Regions from separate parts of the Homo sapiens genome. Here region 1 is linked to region 2. The links are contacts of gene promoters, found by promoter capture Hi-C in human tissues and cell types (Jung and others, 2019). All regions are on one chromosome and are shown on one strand. Each heading gives the region's core, a stretch centred on a gene start or on the middle of the fragment in contact. The rest is flanking DNA. Distances are from core to core; before and after follow the strand shown. Region 1 overlaps CRK (CRK proto-oncogene, adaptor protein). Region 2 holds the start of OVCA2 (OVCA2 serine hydrolase domain containing).

What was found. Contacts are between HindIII fragments. The study calls those that stand out against the background at their distance.
Region 1: a contact is called between a fragment that was not itself captured here and the fragment with the promoter of OVCA2 in region 2, in 1 of the 25 tissues and cell types used here (lymphoblastoid cells).

The regions. Positions count from the first base shown.
Region 1 is chr17:1,444,580-1,448,759 of GRCh38, forward strand. All of the region lies in intron 1 of CRK (CRK proto-oncogene, adaptor protein), which reads right to left. Among named protein-coding and RNA genes, the nearest start is that of CRK, 9.6 kb to the right of the region's middle. The HindIII fragment of the contact is 7,305 bases long and covers 1-4,180 here.
Region 2 is chr17:2,040,772-2,044,433 of GRCh38, forward strand. OVCA2 (OVCA2 serine hydrolase domain containing) reads left to right here and starts at 1,251. Exons shown (of 2, transcript NM_080822.3): 1 at 1,251-1,460; 2 at 1,834-2,654. The coding sequence starts at 1,277. The coding sequence ends at 2,333. DPH1 (diphthamide biosynthesis 1) reads left to right here. Exons shown (of 13, transcript NM_001383.6): 10 at 332-410; 11 at 710-850; 12 at 997-1,104; 13 at 1,834-3,127. The coding sequence ends at 1,086. RefSeq lists silencers at 754-843, 1,354-1,553 and an enhancer at 1,104-1,163. The HindIII fragment of the contact is 24,727 bases long and covers 1-3,662 here.

The sequences.
Region 1 (4,180 bases), core at 940-3,439, 600 kb before region 2:
TTTGGGAAGCCGAAGCGGGGGGGGGGATCACCTGAGATCGGGAGTTCGAGAGCAGCCTGACCAACATGGAGAAACCCCGTCTTTACTAAAAAAAAAAATACAAAATTAGCCAGGCGTGAGTCTCATGCCTGTAATCCCAGCTACTTGGGAGGCTGAGGCAGGAGAATCGCTGGAACCCGGGAGGTGGAGGCTGCGGTGAGCTGAGATCGCACCATTGCACTCCAGCCTGGGCAACAAGAGCAGAACTCCATCTCAAAAGAAAAAAAAAAAAAAAAGAATGGCATAGGGGCCAGGCACGATGGCTCATGCCTGTAATCCCAGCACTCTGGGAGGCCGAGGCAGGCGGATCACGAGGTCAGGAGATCCAGACCACCCTGGCTAACATGGTGAAACCCTGTCTCTACTAAAAATACAAAAAATTAGCCGGGCATGGTGGCGGGCGCCTGTAGTCCCAGCTACTCGGGAGGCTGAGGCAGGAGAATGGCATGAACCTGGGAGGCAGAGCTTGCAGTGAGCCAAGATCGCGCCACTGTACTCCAGCCTGGGCGACAGAGCGAGACACCGTCAAAAAAAAAAAAAAATCATTCCACTATTGGAGAGAGGTAATAAGACACAATGTTAACTTTGGAAGCCAATGAAAAGTCCTTCCGGTAGAAAGAGTACTGATGAGTGCCTTCTCTTTCCATCCAAATGAATGATGAGACCATCTGAAGGAGAGCCGTACATTTTTCATATTACCCAAAGTCCACCTGTGGAATTCACAGCTGTCAGCTTAAAACAGTGAACAGCCCAGACTCAGGAATACTGGCTGTCTCTCCAATTTAAGACACTGAAAGGGGTGCGAGTGCCAGGACTGTCCTCTATGGCAAACACTCCTCATGCACCAATAGAAGATGATCGCAAAAGTTCCGAGGGCAGGACTGGAGAGGGGATTTTGGTTATGACTGTAGCAGAGCACGGAGGTGCTATATTCTGGAGATTCTCTTTATTGAGGAGGATCACTGATGGAGAATAATTCCTATTCAAGTCTGGTAGTCAAGGAGATTCATGGCTACCTTGCCTATCACCATTAGGCTAATTCTGGGTGATCTTTCAGGCCTATGGAGAAACTGTTTAGGACAGGGTCAGTGTGAGCGCATAGGGACCTACTTAGCACTGCCTGGTCAAGAAAACTCTAGGGCAGAGTGGTAAGGAGGCCACCTGGGCACCCATGGCTTAGAAATGGTTCTGATCACAGCTGGGTGGAGAAAAGCTCCCTTGCTAAGGTTTACCCAACTACATGCCAAGGTGTTCTATTAGTTGTCCTTTTGGGACAGTGGTTGGCAGGTCAGTGCTCAGTTAAGTGTTGCTAATTTTTATATTTTTAGAAGAGATGGGGTTTCACCATGTTGGCCAGGATGGTCTTGATCTCTTGACCTTGTGATCTGCCTGCCTCGGCCTCCCAAAGTACTGGGATGACAGGCATGAGCCACCGCGCCCAGCCAGATATTATCTTAATAAGCCTAACTCTGAAGTGATGGAAAGAAGCTAAGCACAATGCCTTCCTAGACTGGAGAAGCTCAGAGAAGTTCACAGCATTGTTGGAGATAACACAGCAAGCACAGTGTGGCTGGTGAACAAGGAGAAAGCGGCACGTCTTAGGAAGACAACCTCCCACCCGGCTTTCACCTTCACCTGGATCTATGTTCCTGCTAAAGACAGTTGGAATAACGCACTGTGTCCTGAGATACAACAGAATCGCCATGAGCAACTACGACCATCTGTGAACACTTCCAAGGTACTCTCTCCACTGGAAGAAGGAAGGTAACCACCCCCTGCCAGCCACTGTTACCATAGCAGGCCGAGCGAAATACATTTTGGCGGGGAAAGAACAAATGAGACTACTAAGCCAAGTCGCTCTGAAAGATGAGTGAGAGAAAACTTGGCAGATCATCTGGCGCAAAGGTAGGAAGCAGGTTTAATTCTCTTCTTGGTCAAATGCCACAATAGCGTGAACTGGGCTCACTATGACTTTTTTTTTTTTTTTTTTTGAGGCGGAGTCTCGCTCTTTCGCCTAGGCTGGACTGCAGTGGCGCCATCTCGGCTCACTGCAAGCTCCGCTTCCTGGGTTCACGCCATTCTCCTGCCTCAGCCTCCCGAGCAGCTGGGACTACAGGTGCCCGCCACCACGCCCGGGTTTTTTTTTCTGTATTTCTAGTAGAGACGGGGTTTCACCGTGTTAACCAGGATGGTCTCGATCTCCTGACCTCGTGATCCGCCCGCCTCGGCCTCCCAAAGTGCTGGGATTACAGGCGTGAGCCACCACGCCCGGCCGTGACTTTCTTTTTGTTTGGCAATCCCAATAGACACAGAAACGTAAGCAAAACGCCACGGAAAACCTTTGATGTACTTTACTTATAAATTATTTTTCTATTCTGACACTGTAATAATTTCACAGAGAAATGCCCGTTTCTGTGAACTGCTGGGGGCCATCAAGCTTCATTGATCCAAACTCCAGAAGGAAGGGAGGAGAACAGAACACACATAAGTCCCAGATAAGCCCAAACCTCACCATGGCTGTGTGTTCCGGCTCCTTTTCTCTCTTTCCTCTCCTTCCAACCACAAACAGCCAAAGGCAGGAAATAGAAGGGCGGGAAAGGAAGGAGGCACAGTCAGCCAGTCTAGAGAACAGAAGCAACGACAGGATTCTCATAGCTATCTGGGACTTGGAAAACCTCAATGACTTGTTCTACATCACCCTGTGCTGGATTCTGAACGTGGAGTTAGGAAGTCACACAAACGGAAATCAAAATCAATGCAAGGAGAGGATATCCTTTCAGCTTCTCGGTACCTGCTCAGCCCGTTACTTCTAAGCCTTCCAAGCATTTCAAGCCTCAGGTTACGACCATTTTTACAAGGCCACTCCCTCCCTGAAGGTTTCATGAAGAACACCTGAGGGCTCTGTGGGCTAAAATAGGCCCAATCACTTCTGACGGGTCTACAAGAGCGGGCCAGGCTCTCCTTGATCTCACAGCACTTTCTCTTTTCCTTTTTTTTTTTTTTTTTTTGAGACGGAGTCTCCCTCTGTTGCCCAGGCTGGAGTACAGTGGTGCGATCTCAGCTCACTGCAACCTCTGCCTCCTGCCTCCTGGGTTCAAGCAATTCTCCCTTCCTTAGCCTCTCGAGTAGCTGGGATTACAGGCGCCCACCACCACACCTGGCTAATTCTTGTATTTTTAGGAAAGACAGGGTTTTGCCATGTTGGCCAGGCTGGTCTCGAACTCCTGACCTCAAGTGATCAGCCAGCCTCAGCCTCCCAAAGTGCTGGGATTACAGGCGCGAGCCACCACACCCGGCCCTCTTTTCCCTTTTTTCCTCAATTCTTGCTCCCTCCCTTCCTTCTCTGCCTGTGGTATTTACAGGGGTTGCTTAGATAAATACCCACCAATACAAAACGCTAAAAAGGCCACTGGCTCGGGAGGCTGAGGCAGGAGAATCGCTTGAACCCGGGAGGCGGAACTTGCAGTGAGCAGAGATCGCGCCACTGCACTCCAGCCTGGGCGACAGAAGGCCACTGGTTTCCATCTGAGAAGATATATGGTCTCCTAAGCAAATAGAATGTTCTAAAGATGGTGGGTATGAGGACGGTCCTTTGCAGGTTTGGTGCATTGTGGCTCTCATTTTCTAGCTGTCTGAGTTACCTAACTTCTGTGTGCCTCACCCCCGACTCTGCAAAATGGGGTCAAATACCTATCTAATAAATAAAGTTCCTAAAGTGGCTAGAGGCTGGGCGTGGGGGTTCACGCCTGTAATCCCAGTACTTTGGGTGGCAGAGCCAGGCAAATCACTGAGGTCAGGAGTTCAAGACCAGCCTGATCAACATGGTGAAACCCATCTCTACTAAAAATGCAAAAATTAGCTGGGCATGGTGGTGCACGCCTGTAGTCCCAGCTGCTGGGGAGGCTGAGGCAGGAGAACTGCCTGAACCTGGGAGGCAGAGCTTGCAGTGAGCCGAGAATATGCCATTGCACTCCAGCCTGGGTGAGAGCAAGACTCCATCTCAAAAAAAAAAAAAAAAAAAAAAGAAAAAGTGGCTCGTACATTATAGGTGCTCAATAAAAAGCAACCAATTCTCCAAATTCCTTCAGCAATTTTCAATTCATCCTCAAATCCAGAGCCCACTGGACCGTTTCCCAGAGAA
Region 2 (3,662 bases), core at 1-2,500:
TTTGGGGCTCAGAGGCAATGGCAACATCACATTTGTCCTTGTGAGATGAGTTTGAGCGGTGGCTGACACCTGCCCTGTACCAGGTACTAAATGTGGTTCTGGGGATACTATCACCAGTGAGCTGCCCTGGAAAGCTCATTGTCGGCAGAGGAAACAGGAGAAAACACGCAACAATACAGTATTCCAAACAGCAGTGGGTCACTGTCTTTACTTTAGGATTCATAAAGCCTGTTAATGAATGGGTGTGCTGGGGGCACTGTCATGTTCTTCAGCATGCTGCCTGGGCGACGAGGAGGCCCTTCCTAGGGTCTGACCTGGCTTCCCTTCCCAGGTGGGTGCAGGTGGCATGTCCACGTCTCTCCATTGACTGGGGCACAGCCTTCCCCAAGCCGCTGCTGACACCCTATGAGGTAACACCAAGCTCTGGGAGAGAGTGGGCTTTGGACGTGGTTCTCAAAGGTGAGGTCTGGAGTGGAGTGGGGTGGGTGGGCAGCACTTCGTTATGTTCGTAGATTCCGGAGTCTGTCTCGATTTCTCCAGCGGAGTCACTTCCTAGCTGTGTAGCCTTAGGCAAGGCCCTGAACCACACAGTTCCCTTCTGTGGCAGGGGACAGTGTGCCCTTCACAGGCCGTCGTGAGGACTGAATTCAGTAATCCAGGGGCAGAAAAACACTGGCAGATGTTATTGTCCCTCCCTCCCCTCCCCTAGGCGGCCGTGGCTCTGAGGGACATTTCCTGGCAGCAGCCCTACCCGATGGACTTCTACGCTGGCAGCTCCTTGGGGCCCTGGACGGTGAACCACGGCCAGGACCGCCGTCCCCACGCCCCGGGCCGGCCCGCGCGGGGGAAGGTAGGCGGGGGCTTCCAGGAGGGAGGAGAGACCGCGCCTGGGCACTGGCCGCCGCCCTGCGACCGCGACGGGAAACGCACAGGAGCGGAGCGGAGGGAAACGCAGGGTCGCAGGAGCGAGACCCTAACCAAAGTCTGCGACCTCAGGTGCAGGAGGGGTCCGCGCGTCCCCCTTCGGCCGTGGCTTGCGAGGACTGCAGCTGCAGGGACGAGAAGGTGGCGCCGCTGGCTCCTTGACGCGCTCCCGGGCCTCAGGTATCAGCCCCCGCTCTGGGTGCGCCCCGCCTTTTGCCGTTGTCATGGGAACGCCTTGGCGCTCCGAGGCCCGCCCTCGGGGCGGTGCTGACGTTCGGTTCCGCCCCGTGCATTGTGCTTCCGCTCGGGGAAAGACCGCTTCCGGTGCTTCCGTCGCTCCTTGCCGGGCATAATGGCCGCGCAGCGACCCCTGCGGGTCCTGTGCCTGGCGGGCTTCCGGCAGAGCGAGCGGGGCTTCCGTGAGAAGACCGGGGCGCTGAGGAAGGCGCTGCGGGGTCGCGCCGAGCTCGTGTGCCTCAGCGGCCCGCACCCGGTCCCCGACCCCCCGGGCCCCGAGGGCGCCAGATCAGACTTCGGTGAGACAAGCCCCGCTCCGGAAACGCACTCAGTTTCCTCCATCTTGTTTCGTCCCCCTCGACACCCTTCAGCATCCCCCACCCTGCGTCCACCCGCATTCCTCCCACCCAGTCCACACCCTTCATTTCTCGCGACCCATACCCTCTTTGCTCAAACTGCAGCCTGTCCTCCCAGGCTTCCGCCTTCACCGTCTTCCTCCGCTGTCTCCTGTTCAGGCCAATCCACTCATTTCCCCCCTCTCATTTCCCCCAGACTTTTGCCTCGATTCCCTTTTTCTCTCTGTCATCTCGAACCCTCCTGCCCTTTCTCATTTCTTTCCTTCCTGGAGCCTCCCATGCCCTAATCCCATCCTTTTTCCTCATATCGCTGTAGGGTCCTGCCCTCCGGAGGAGCAGCCTCGAGGCTGGTGGTTTTCAGAGCAGGAGGCCGACGTTTTCTCCGCATTGGAAGAGCCCGCCGTCTGCAGGGGCCTGGAGGAATCACTGGGGATGGTGGCACAGGCACTGAACAGGCTGGGGCCTTTTGACGGCCTTCTTGGTTTCAGCCAAGGGGCTGCGCTAGCAGCCCTTGTGTGTGCCCTGGGCCAGGCAGGCGATCCCCGCTTCCCCTTGCCACGGTTTATCCTCTTGGTGTCTGGTTTCTGTCCCCGGGGCATTGGGTTCAAGGAATCCATCCTGCAAAGGCCCTTGTCATTGCCTTCGCTCCATGTTTTTGGGGACACTGACAAAGTCATCCCCTCTCAGGAGAGTGTGCAACTGGCCAGCCAATTTCCCGGAGCCATCACCCTCACCCACTCTGGTGGCCACTTCATTCCAGCAGCTGCACCCCAGCGTCAGGCCTACCTCAAGTTCTTGGACCAGTTTGCAGAGTGAAAGATCAAGAAATGTCTCTGCTCCTACATCCAGCTCCTCTAGGGGCAGCCTCCGTCATCCATGCCCTCCCAGGACCCTCCACTCACTGCTGTGAGTGCGCCTCACCAGAACCAGTTAAGAGACAACTATCAATTCTTGAGACCCAAATTATAAGGGCCCTGCCCTGTACTGAAGAAAAGGGGAGCACAAGGCCTTAATGGACATTGACTTGTGAAAACGCAAACATGAATATGGTTGGAGAGCCCTGGATTAGGAGGGTGACATGGGGAAGGCAGAGGCTGGCACCATGGTGACTGCCACATAATAAAGTGGTGATTTGGATTTTGAGCATCTTTTTCCTGGTACACACAGAAAAACATTTTATAATGGAAGTCGGTTTCTTGGCCATCTACATAGTTTTCTGGGCAGCGCCAAGCAGGGAGGTGTCTCCAGTTGTGAGTCCTCGGACAGGCTGCTGCATGGGTGCACATACTCACGTTATTGGTGGAAGTTTTAAGTCCCAAACTGAAGGGAAGGAGGCCTAGGTGGCACAATCAGGGAGGAATATACATCTGAGAAGTTTTGGGAAGACATCACCTGGCAAGGCTGCCTGAACCACAGTAATTTAGTCTTCCTCTATCCAGATCACTGAGAGTTGTGTGCTGGTCTTCTCTCAAACCCTGGATGTGTTACCTGCTTCTCCCTAAGTGCTCTAACCTCGCTGAACTATGAGCCTGAAGGGTGGGTCGATGCCAGACCTTAGGTGGAGGCCAAAGACAGTACAGAATAAACAGCTTCTTCCTAAATTGACCCCATCTTGAGGGTTTCTGAGATTGATGCCATTCTTTAGTGACTACAGCCAAGGCCTAAGCAATCCAGCTGGTTTTCCCCTTGGGGCGTGTAGTTGTTCTTGGATACTTTGAGGATTGCTCACTCTTTTTTTTTTTTTTTTTGAGACAGGCTCACTCTGTCACCCAGGCTGGAGAGCAGTGGCCAAGATCCTGGCTCACTGCAACCTCAGCCTCCTGGGTTCAAGCAGTTCTGTCTCAGCCTCCTGAGTAGGTGGCGTTACAGGCATGCGCCACCACGCCTGGCTAATTTCTATATTTTTTTGTAGAGATAGGGTTTTGCCACGTTGCCCAGGCTGGTCTCAAAACTCTTTAGCTCAAACAATCCACCTGCCTCAGCCTCCCAAAGTGCTAGGATTATAGGCCTGAGCCACTGCACCTACCTAGGATTGCCCACTCTTTTTTTGTTTTCTTTACTTTTAAAGACAAGGTCTGACTCTATCACCCAGGCTGGAGTGCAGTGGCACAATCTTGACAGCCTCCACCTCCCGGGCTCAAGCCA